Regions from separate parts of the Homo sapiens genome. Here region 1 is linked to region 2. Evidence: promoter capture Hi-C in human tissues and cell types (Jung and others, 2019). All regions are on one chromosome and are shown on one strand. Each heading gives the region's core, a stretch centred on a gene start or on the middle of the fragment in contact. The rest is flanking DNA. Distances are from core to core; before and after follow the strand shown. Region 1 holds the start of BEST2 (bestrophin 2). Region 2 holds the start of RAD23A (RAD23 nucleotide excision repair protein A).

Region 1 (4,360 bases), core at 698-3,197, 190 kb after region 2:
CAGAGAAATGCCCCCAGGCTGGAATTGAGAGGATGGAGTCCTATGGGGTCCCTGGAGGGTTAGGGGTTTGTCCCCCCTAATAACACAACAGACACTGGTGAGAATCCCCAGGGTGACCAGGAATAAGTCCTGTGTGTGAGATGGAGCTCTCCTGGGGGCACCTCAGGGGGCACTGTGACCCCAGGTGACACCCCAGGTCTCAGAGTGTAGAGCCACATCTGGCATCTTCATGATATGGATCCAAAAATGGGTGGGCAGTGCTGTCGGGGTTGGATTTGAGGGGGGGGATCTCAGAGGGGCAGGAATGGGGGCTCCTCAAAAGGCATGAATGGATATGGGTTTCTCAGGGACATGGGAACGGGGGACTTGGGGTTGGACCGCACCAAGCACGAAGGAGACAGGGATGAGGCTGGCATACTGGTCACAATAAATCACAAGCTTCTCGAAGTAGCGCTTCTGCCCTTCGGTCAGCACAAAGCTGCGGGATAGAGATGAGGGGTCACAGGTCACAAGGGTGACTCCATCCCCAGCTTCAGATCTCTCTTGCTGTGCCCCTCACCCTGGCTTCTTTTATAATAGCTGCCCCCAGCCGGGTGCTATGGGTCACACCTGTAATCCCAGCACTTTGGGAGGCCGAGGCAGGAGGATCACTTGAGGTCAGAAGTTTGAGACCAGCCTGGTCAACACGGTGAAACCCCATCTCTACTAAAAATACAAAAAAATTAGCCAGGCATGGTGGCTGGCACCCATAATCCCAGCTACTCGGGAGGCTGAGGCAGGAGAATCGCTTGAACCCGGGAGGCAGAGGTGGAAGTAAGAGAAGATTATGCCACTGCACTCCAGCCTGGGTGACAGAGTGAGACTCCATCTCAGTTTAAAAAACATAGATATATATACTTATATATCTCTATATTTTTATAATTTTTATATATTATATATATATAATAGCTGCCCCCCCTCCGCTAGAACATGAGCACCTCAGGGCAGCCTCACCGGTAGGCAGCACTCAGCGCCATGTAGAACCCAAGGAAGCAGAGCAGCTCTCGCCACAGGAGTTTGTAGATGCTCCCACGCCACAGTAGCAGCAGCTGGGAGAAGCCACCGAAGCGGGCGTTCGCCACTCGGGCTGTGTAGGTGACGGTCATCGTGGCACCCGGCAGGTGTGGCCAAGGGAGAGTGGGTGGCCCGGGTGGGGGCTGCGGGTGTGGGTGGAGAGGTGCGGGGATAACTGAGCACAGGGATTCCACCCATGTTCCGGCCCGCCACCCCTTCAGTCCTGACCCTTGCCTGAGTTGCCTTCTCCTCCCAGCTTTACTCAGTCTAGTCCAGCCCCCAGTGCCCCTCCCTGACCTTCATCTCAGGCTGTCCCCTTCCCTGGACTCCTGGCCGTGGGCTCTGGTAACTGCCGTCCCCCACCACCAAGACCCTTGAGTCCCTGCAGTCAGCTCCCGAGTCACCCTCTGCCCGATCCCCTTCACCCAGAGGCCACCTGTAGCATGCCCCATTCCGCAAGTCCCCAGCACCTGAGTTTCTAGGTTCTCAAGGCTCCACCTCTCCCAAATTCTCTCCCTCAGCCCCTATTTCTGGCTCCCCCTTCTCCACTTCCCCAGCTCCCAGTCTTGACCCATTCTGCTCCCTGCACTCCCTCTGAAGCCCTGTCCCTAAGCCTCCAGGTCCCCTAGCCCCCCTGCCCCAGCCTGTGCACCTTCTGCTTAATTGCCCTGGCTCCCCCCACTCCCTTTTCCTCCCGGATCCGCCTTGACCTTTCCTCTCTCCGTTCCCCTCCAGCCTTCCAAGCCCTCCACTCCCCGCCCCGGGAGGACTCCGGATGCATTCCTGCCCGCAGGTTCCCTCTTCCCTCAGGGCCCCCTATTTCCCCAAGCCTGGGCTCATCTCACCTGTGTTGAAGGTGGCCGGTGCAAGGACCCACAGGGACAGGGATGGAATGGGCGGGTGGCTTTGGCGTTGGGTGGGGCTGGGGAGTGGGCGTGCCTCCCTTTCCTGGTCCTCCTCCCTCGGCTAGGCTGTAGCTTCAGAATTTTGTTTGGAGTCCCACAAGTTTGTTACCTGGTACGGGGGGAGAAATCCGCCTTGTCCTCCCTCGCCCCTCCCTGTTCCCCTCCCAGTCGCTCACTGGCAGGTCCTAGGGATCTGGAACCCAGAGGTTGGGGGAGGAGGCAGGGATGGTCTTTTTCCCAGTCCCAGAAACACACACACTGCTCAGTGAGGCTGGGTCACTTCACAGTCACCTGTAATCACACAGTGTCACAGAGATGCACGCAGAAACACACATCATAGTCCCAGAAGCAAATCTAGCTGCTCTTAAGACAGCCTCAGCCAGGCACGATGGCTCACACTTGTAATTTTAGCACTTTGGGAGGCTTAGGTGGGAGGATCACTTGAGCCAGGAGTTCGAGACCAGCCTGGGCAACATAGGGAGATCCCCATCTCTATTGAAAAAACAAAAAGACAGCCTCACATAACTATGGTTACCCAGAGGAGCAGTACACACTGTCACAGAACCTTCCAGGGTCACACAAGACACACCTACCTCGACCCCTCCTGCCTCCATCACGCATATATAAGGCAGGTGGACCCTGACATACTAGGCTCTCCTCTTTCATACACACGGCTCTCCCAACGGTCTGAATTCCGTCATGATCACGCCATGTAACAAAGACACCCACACAACCAGCCAAGTGCCAGACCCCACCCAGACCTCAGAATGCCTTCACACACACAGTCATACTCCACTGCAAGGAGGTTTTACTCCCGATCTTCCCTGTGCAAAGATGCAGCCATGATCACACACCAAATGCAAAAACCCTTTCCTCAGTGCGGTGGCACACAATCCCAGGCTCAGAGCGGGGCCTGAGGTTCACCAATCTTGCAAAGACACACACAACAGCCACCCCTCCCTCAAGGGTCCCCTAGCTATCACCGCTGGTGAAATTCACCAGCATTTGTACACCAATATGTGAAGGCAACCCCCTTTCCAACGCTCCCTCCCGGCGGCAGGCCCACACCCACACCCACAGGTCTCAGATACTCTCAGCATTGCCATGAACACACAAGCTTGGGGACACAAAACCTTGTCCTGCATTTGGCATGGATTCTGGGCAGATGTTCATTCTTCACAGACACACCTCTAAAGGGGACACTCCCAGCCTGGTACAAACAGTACCCACTCCCCCTCCATTGCCCAGCCTGAAGAACATTAACACACAGATTGGTGTGGGAGGGGCAGAAGTTCAGGGGTCAAACCCTGGGATGGGCATCCTAGAGTGCTCAGGAGCCCCTCGTGCATTCTACATAGCCCCGCCCGAGGTTCCAAGCCCAGCAGGCTGGGACGCCGTGTTCCCAGACTGGCAGATGTTCACCCTGCCCGGAGTAATTAGGAACCCGCCTGGGCTGGTCACCCTGTGACCCATGCCTTCGCTGTCCAGCTGCCGGACAGCCCATAAATGGGGGCGAGGGGGCAGCTGGGGCGGTGCCGTCAGCTGCGGAACCTGGCAAGGCGGTGGCAGGCTCGGTGCTGATGAGCTCAGTTCTCGATCAGCAGCCCTCACTCCCTAGGAAGTGTCCTTGCATTCACTGAAGCCCGCTCCTCCTTTTCATCCTCCCTACCCCAGCTCACCCGCATCCCCACACACTTCCGACTGCTGAATTCCCGCAGGGGCTGGGGGCAGGCTTCCTGGGCTATTTGATATGCTTACTAATTGTGACAACGAAAAATAACAAACATTTCTTGCGGTTTCCTGTCTGGTGCTGGTATAAACGCCTTGCGTGTTTCATCTCATGGAATCCTTACGGGCATGCTAAGTTGGTCATCTTACTATCTAAGTAGGGAAACTGAGGCTCCGATGTCACATCTCATCTTGTTCGTAGCACAGCTGGGATTTGGATCCTGGCAGTTTGGCGCGGAGCCGGCTGTACCATCGTGTTTGTTTACACATGCCACCCCAACAGGCCCACACCTGCTTGTGCACACCCCAGGGAGTTGGAGTGACAAGTCTAGGCTCCTGGTGGGGTTCCCCTTACACACACACCCTGGCACACCCAGACTCTGGGTCTGAACACTTTTTTTTTGAGACGGAGTCTCACTTTATTGCCCAGGCTGGAGTGCAATGGCGCAATCTCGGCTCAGTGCAACCTCTGCCTCCCAGGTTCAAGTGATTCTCCTGCCTCAGCCTCGCAAGTAGCTGGGATTATAGGTGGGCACCACCACGCCTGACTAATTTTTGTCTTTTTAGTAGAGAGTAGTTGGAGGCTGGCCTCCAACTCCTGACCTCGTGATCCACCTGCCTCGGCCTCCCAAAGTGCTGGGATTACACGCGTGAGCCACCATGACTGGACCTGA
Region 2 (4,299 bases), core at 200-2,699:
GGACTAAAGGTACACACCACCACTCCAGACTAATTAAAAATAATTTTTTTTTGTAGATAAGAGTCTCCCTATGTTAGACTGGCTGGTCTCAAACTCCTGGCCTCAAGCAATCCTCCTGCCTCTGCCTCCCAAATCATCAGGATTAGAGGCATGAGCCACCGTGCCTGGCCAATAGTGCTACTGTAAATGTATATGTGTCATACCTTTTAAGTTTCCTATGAAATACGTTTAATTGGTCTCATTTTATTTATTGATTTTTGTTTCTTTTTTTTGTAGAGAACGGGGTCTCACTGTGTTGCCAGGATGATCTCGAATTCCTAGGCTCAAGGGCTCCTCTTCCCTCTGCCTCCCTAAGTGCTGGGATTACAGGCGGAAGCCAGCAGGCGACCGGTTCATTTGATATTTGAGAAAACGGAGGCACAGACAGGTAGGCAGGTTAACTTGCCCAAAGCCAAACACTTGAGCGGATCAAAAAATGTGTGTTTCCTTTTCTACAAAAAGTGGACTTCAATGTCTCCCTCACTATGCAAAAAGCGCCAAGTACCCAATAGACATTCAGTATGTTTGAATTAGGTCCTAATTCTACTTTTGACTAAAAAGGCAGCATAATATTTATATCGTGGACGCTCACACGAGGCAGAACCGAATTTGAATCCCAGCTCTGCCATTACTTGTGTGTGACTGTGGCAAAGTTCCTCAATCCCTAGGTTTCCACATCTGTAAAATGATCAGAGGTCCCCAATGACAAGCCCGTTTTGCAGAGCGGTAAAACAACACTACAACACTCGGTGACTGATAAAAAGTAAACGGCCAACAAACACGGACCACCAAAATTATAAAGACTGAGACCCGTTTATTATCATTAACATCGTTGTTGTCGTCACTACTCAGTATCTCCTGGTCATTACTCCTAGATTCGACCACCAGTGTCCCAAGGAGACGCCTGCAAAGCTGGGAACGTGGAGCCCAGTCTTGGAGAGCTTGGCCTGCCCAGGAATCCGAGCTTGTGACTCCCGCGCCCCGCGAGAGCGCTGACATTGGAGCCGGGGCCTGGCCAGCGCCCCGGGGGTGGGGCCTCGCCCGGAGACCGGCGCAGGAGCGCCGCCCGATCGGCTGGGGGCTGGGCCAAAGACCATCGGGGGGTCCAGGAAAGTCGGGCAGGTCGGGGGTCTGGGCAGGGCCGACCCGCGCCGTCCTCCCTGCCCCTCCCGTTGGGATTCTAGCCTCCCCGCCCCCACCCCACCCCCGAAACCCGTCGCTCCCGCCCCCGGGCTCCGGCCCGGCCCGCACCGTCTCGTCAGGCTCCATGCGGATCTTGAAGGTCTGCTGCTGCAGCGTTTTGAGCGTGATGGTGACGGCCATGGCGGGGCCCGAGCGACGCGGCGGCCCCGGGATCCTCACACAACATGCAACTCACGCCGCCGCCATCTTAGCGCCCAGGCGCGCCGCGCCGCGCGCCGACCACTTCCGGGGCAGGCAATGCGCGCGCTGACCACCGGCGCACGTGACCTGCGCACTCCCTCCTTGGCCTTTGTGGGCATGCGCACGAGCGCGTTCTCGAGCGAGGCACGCGCAGACTAAACTCCGCGCTGTGGGCGGGGCTTCTTGCTCGGCCCGCACACGTGGTCTCCTGAGTGACGCCATGCCCGTTATCGGTGACGTCACGGGGCTGCAAAGTGACTCTGGTGTCCCCACTCTCACGCTCAAATGAATTTTTAACAAAGTTTTTATGTACCTGTACTGGTTACAGACATTTGTATTTCTTCTGTAAAAACCTCATTTTGCCTCTTCCAAATGAGAATTTTTTCTTTCAAACAGTCTCTGTCACCCAGGCTGGAGTGCAGTGGCGCGATCTCGGCTCACTGCAGCTTCCGCCTTCCGGGTTCATGCAATTCTCCTGCCTCAGCCTCCCGAGTAACTGGGATTACAGGCACCCCCCACCACGCCCGGATAATTTTTTGTATTGGGTTTCACCGTGTTGGCCAGGCTGGTCTCAAAACTCCTGACCTCAGGTGATCCACCCGCCTCGGCCTCCCAAAGTGCTGGGATTACAGGCGTGAACCACCGTACCCGGCCCCCAAATGAGTTTTATTCTGGTCTGGGTATCCTGGCAGGAACCCTTGTAGAGCAGTCAAAGTGAAAGTTACTCAAAACTAGAAATACCTGAAAGGCCACCAAGCACAGAAAAAAAACCTTAAGTTGGAAGCGGGGGCAAGGTGCCATTTTGTAGCCTCATTCATTCTTTAGGGATCTGGAGTTTTGGAATGAACCTACAATTTTCATTCTTGGGTCTCCGGGCAGGAGTACTTTGTTGTACTATACCTAATCTGACCCCAGAAGTATTTAAAGATGTTAACTTTCAAAGCCTCACTACATTAAATACAGAATTCTCCCTTGGATCTACCAGTCCTGGAGGCATCCCAGAGGGGTTGGGCTGAGCCACAGGACCCCAAAGGAATAGAAGCATGAAAAAGGCCAGTTTAAGGGGCAGGGTGAACCAGATTGAGCCACTGTACGCCAGCCTGGACAACAGAGCGAGAGTCTATCTTAAAAATAAATAAATAAGCAGAACCAAAACTTACCAGTTAGGTTCAAGGATTCAGTAAGTTAGTATGTGGAGTATTTACAGCAGCAACAGCCATTCCCCCGTTGGTTTTGAGGGTTATGGGGTAAATAAGGGTCCCTGGAATCTTGTGGAACACTCAGCAACCTCTCTAGCAATAGCTGAAAAAGGAGATATACTGGAAACCCCCCCCCCCCCCAAAAAGACCACTGCTGGGTTTCCTTAAGTCTGTCTTTCCCCAGAAGGAGACACAGGAGGGAGACACAAAATTTAATTTAATAGAAATTTTGTTTGTAGTTCTTACATTCTCAGTGTGAGCCAATCTGGGACCCACTGCCCCACCCAGAAGTGGCCCAGTCCTGGGGGCAGGGGAGAAAGGGAGGGGTGAAATGAGAAGAGCCCCGTTCTTCCTCAGTGCTGGGGGGTTGGAGACACCACCCCCTTCTGCTGCCCTCCTCTGGGCTCCAGGAAGGAGAGCAGATGAAATCTCAGGCCTGTGGCTTCTCCACACCACTGCCCCCCAGGTTGGAGGGGAGCTAAGAGATGAGAGAAGGGGACAGAGGCAAGAAAAGATGTTGATCAAGAAAGATGAGAACCAGGGGTGAGGGCTGAAGGAGAATCAAAGATAAAATACCAGTTTAAAAAAAAAAAAAAAAAAGGGCGGGGAGGGGGTGGGGGAGAGTGGAGGAGGGGAACAAAACCAAAATCCACCCCAAATCCGAACCAGCCTGGAAAAAAATGAAAGTTCTCGAGTCTCACAGAGACATTATTTGGCGCGGCCAGCTCTGCGGCAGGAGCGCTCAGGCCTCAGTCCAGCCCTGGAGGCAGGCCTCTCTACAGCTCGTCCTTGGCCTGGCCGGGGACATCTTCCTCCTCATCTTCCTCCTTGTCCTCCTCATCCTCCTCATCCTCATCTTTGTCCTCATCATCCTCCTTGTCCTCTGCCTCCTCCTCCTCTTTGCGTTTCTTGTCTTCTTCCTCCTCCTTAAGCCTCTGCTCCTCGTCCTGTTTGTCCTTCATTTGTTTCTCTGCTGCCTGCAGGCAGAGCACACACCTCAGGGCCTTGCCCCCTGCCAGCCCTGCCCGCCCCCGACATCAGGACCAGGACCAGGCCTCACCTTTGTTACGCCCCACGTCTCGTTGCCAAACTCCTCAGCGTATGCCTCATCGTTGGTGATGAGGAAGTTGTCAAAGATGGTGCCAGACTTGACCTGGAGGATGAATGGGAAGGATGGTCAGAGGTGATACCCGATAGCCCTTGCTTTGGACAGGGTTTCCACCTGTGTTCCTATAACCACTATATTCTGCTGCCTGCATCTGCAGAGAAGACAAGGAACACCGCTGACACTGCAGTTAAAAAGATGGAGAGGCCAGGTGAGGTGGATCACGCCTGTAATCCTCGCCCAGAGGCCAAGGTGGGCGGATCACGAGGTCAGGAGATCGAGACCACCCTGGCTAACACGGTGAAACCCCGTCTCTACTAAAAATACAAAAAATCAGCCAGGCGTGGTGGCAAGTGCCTGTAGTCCCAGCTATTTGGGAGGCTGAGACAGGAGAATGATGTGAACCCAGGAGGCGGAGCTTGCAGTGAGCCAAGATCGTGCCACTGCACTCCAGCCTGGGTGACAGAGTGAGACTCCATCTCCAAAAAAAAAAAAAAAAAAAAAAAAGATGGAAAGATGGAGAGACAGCCAGGGACGGGACGGGCTCATGCCTGTAATCCCAGCACTTTGGGA

What was found. The method cuts DNA at HindIII sites, captures the fragments that hold promoters and counts their contacts. A contact is called where the count stands out against the background at its distance.
Region 1: a contact is called between the fragment with the promoter of BEST2 here and the fragment with the promoter of RAD23A in region 2, in 1 of the 25 tissues and cell types used here (spleen).

The regions. Positions count from the first base shown.
Region 1 is chr19:12,749,378-12,753,737 of GRCh38, reverse strand. BEST2 (bestrophin 2) reads right to left here and starts at 1,947. Exons shown (of 10, transcript NM_017682.3): 1 at 1,899-1,947; 2 at 994-1,196; 3 at 384-478. The coding sequence starts at 1,145. The HindIII fragment of the contact is 8,475 bases long and covers 1-4,360 here.
Region 2 is chr19:12,943,012-12,947,310 of GRCh38, reverse strand. RAD23A (RAD23 nucleotide excision repair protein A) reads right to left here and starts at 1,449. Exons shown (of 9, transcript NM_005053.4): 1 at 1,291-1,449. The coding sequence starts at 1,362. It overlaps CALR (calreticulin), which reads right to left. Exons shown (of 9, transcript NM_004343.4): 8 at 3,682-3,774; 9 at 2,822-3,598. The coding sequence ends at 3,398. RefSeq lists enhancers at 1-32, 1,348-1,567, 979-1,671 and silencers at 662-956, 928-987, 1,008-1,197, 1,208-1,287. The HindIII fragment of the contact is 31,996 bases long and covers 1-4,299 here.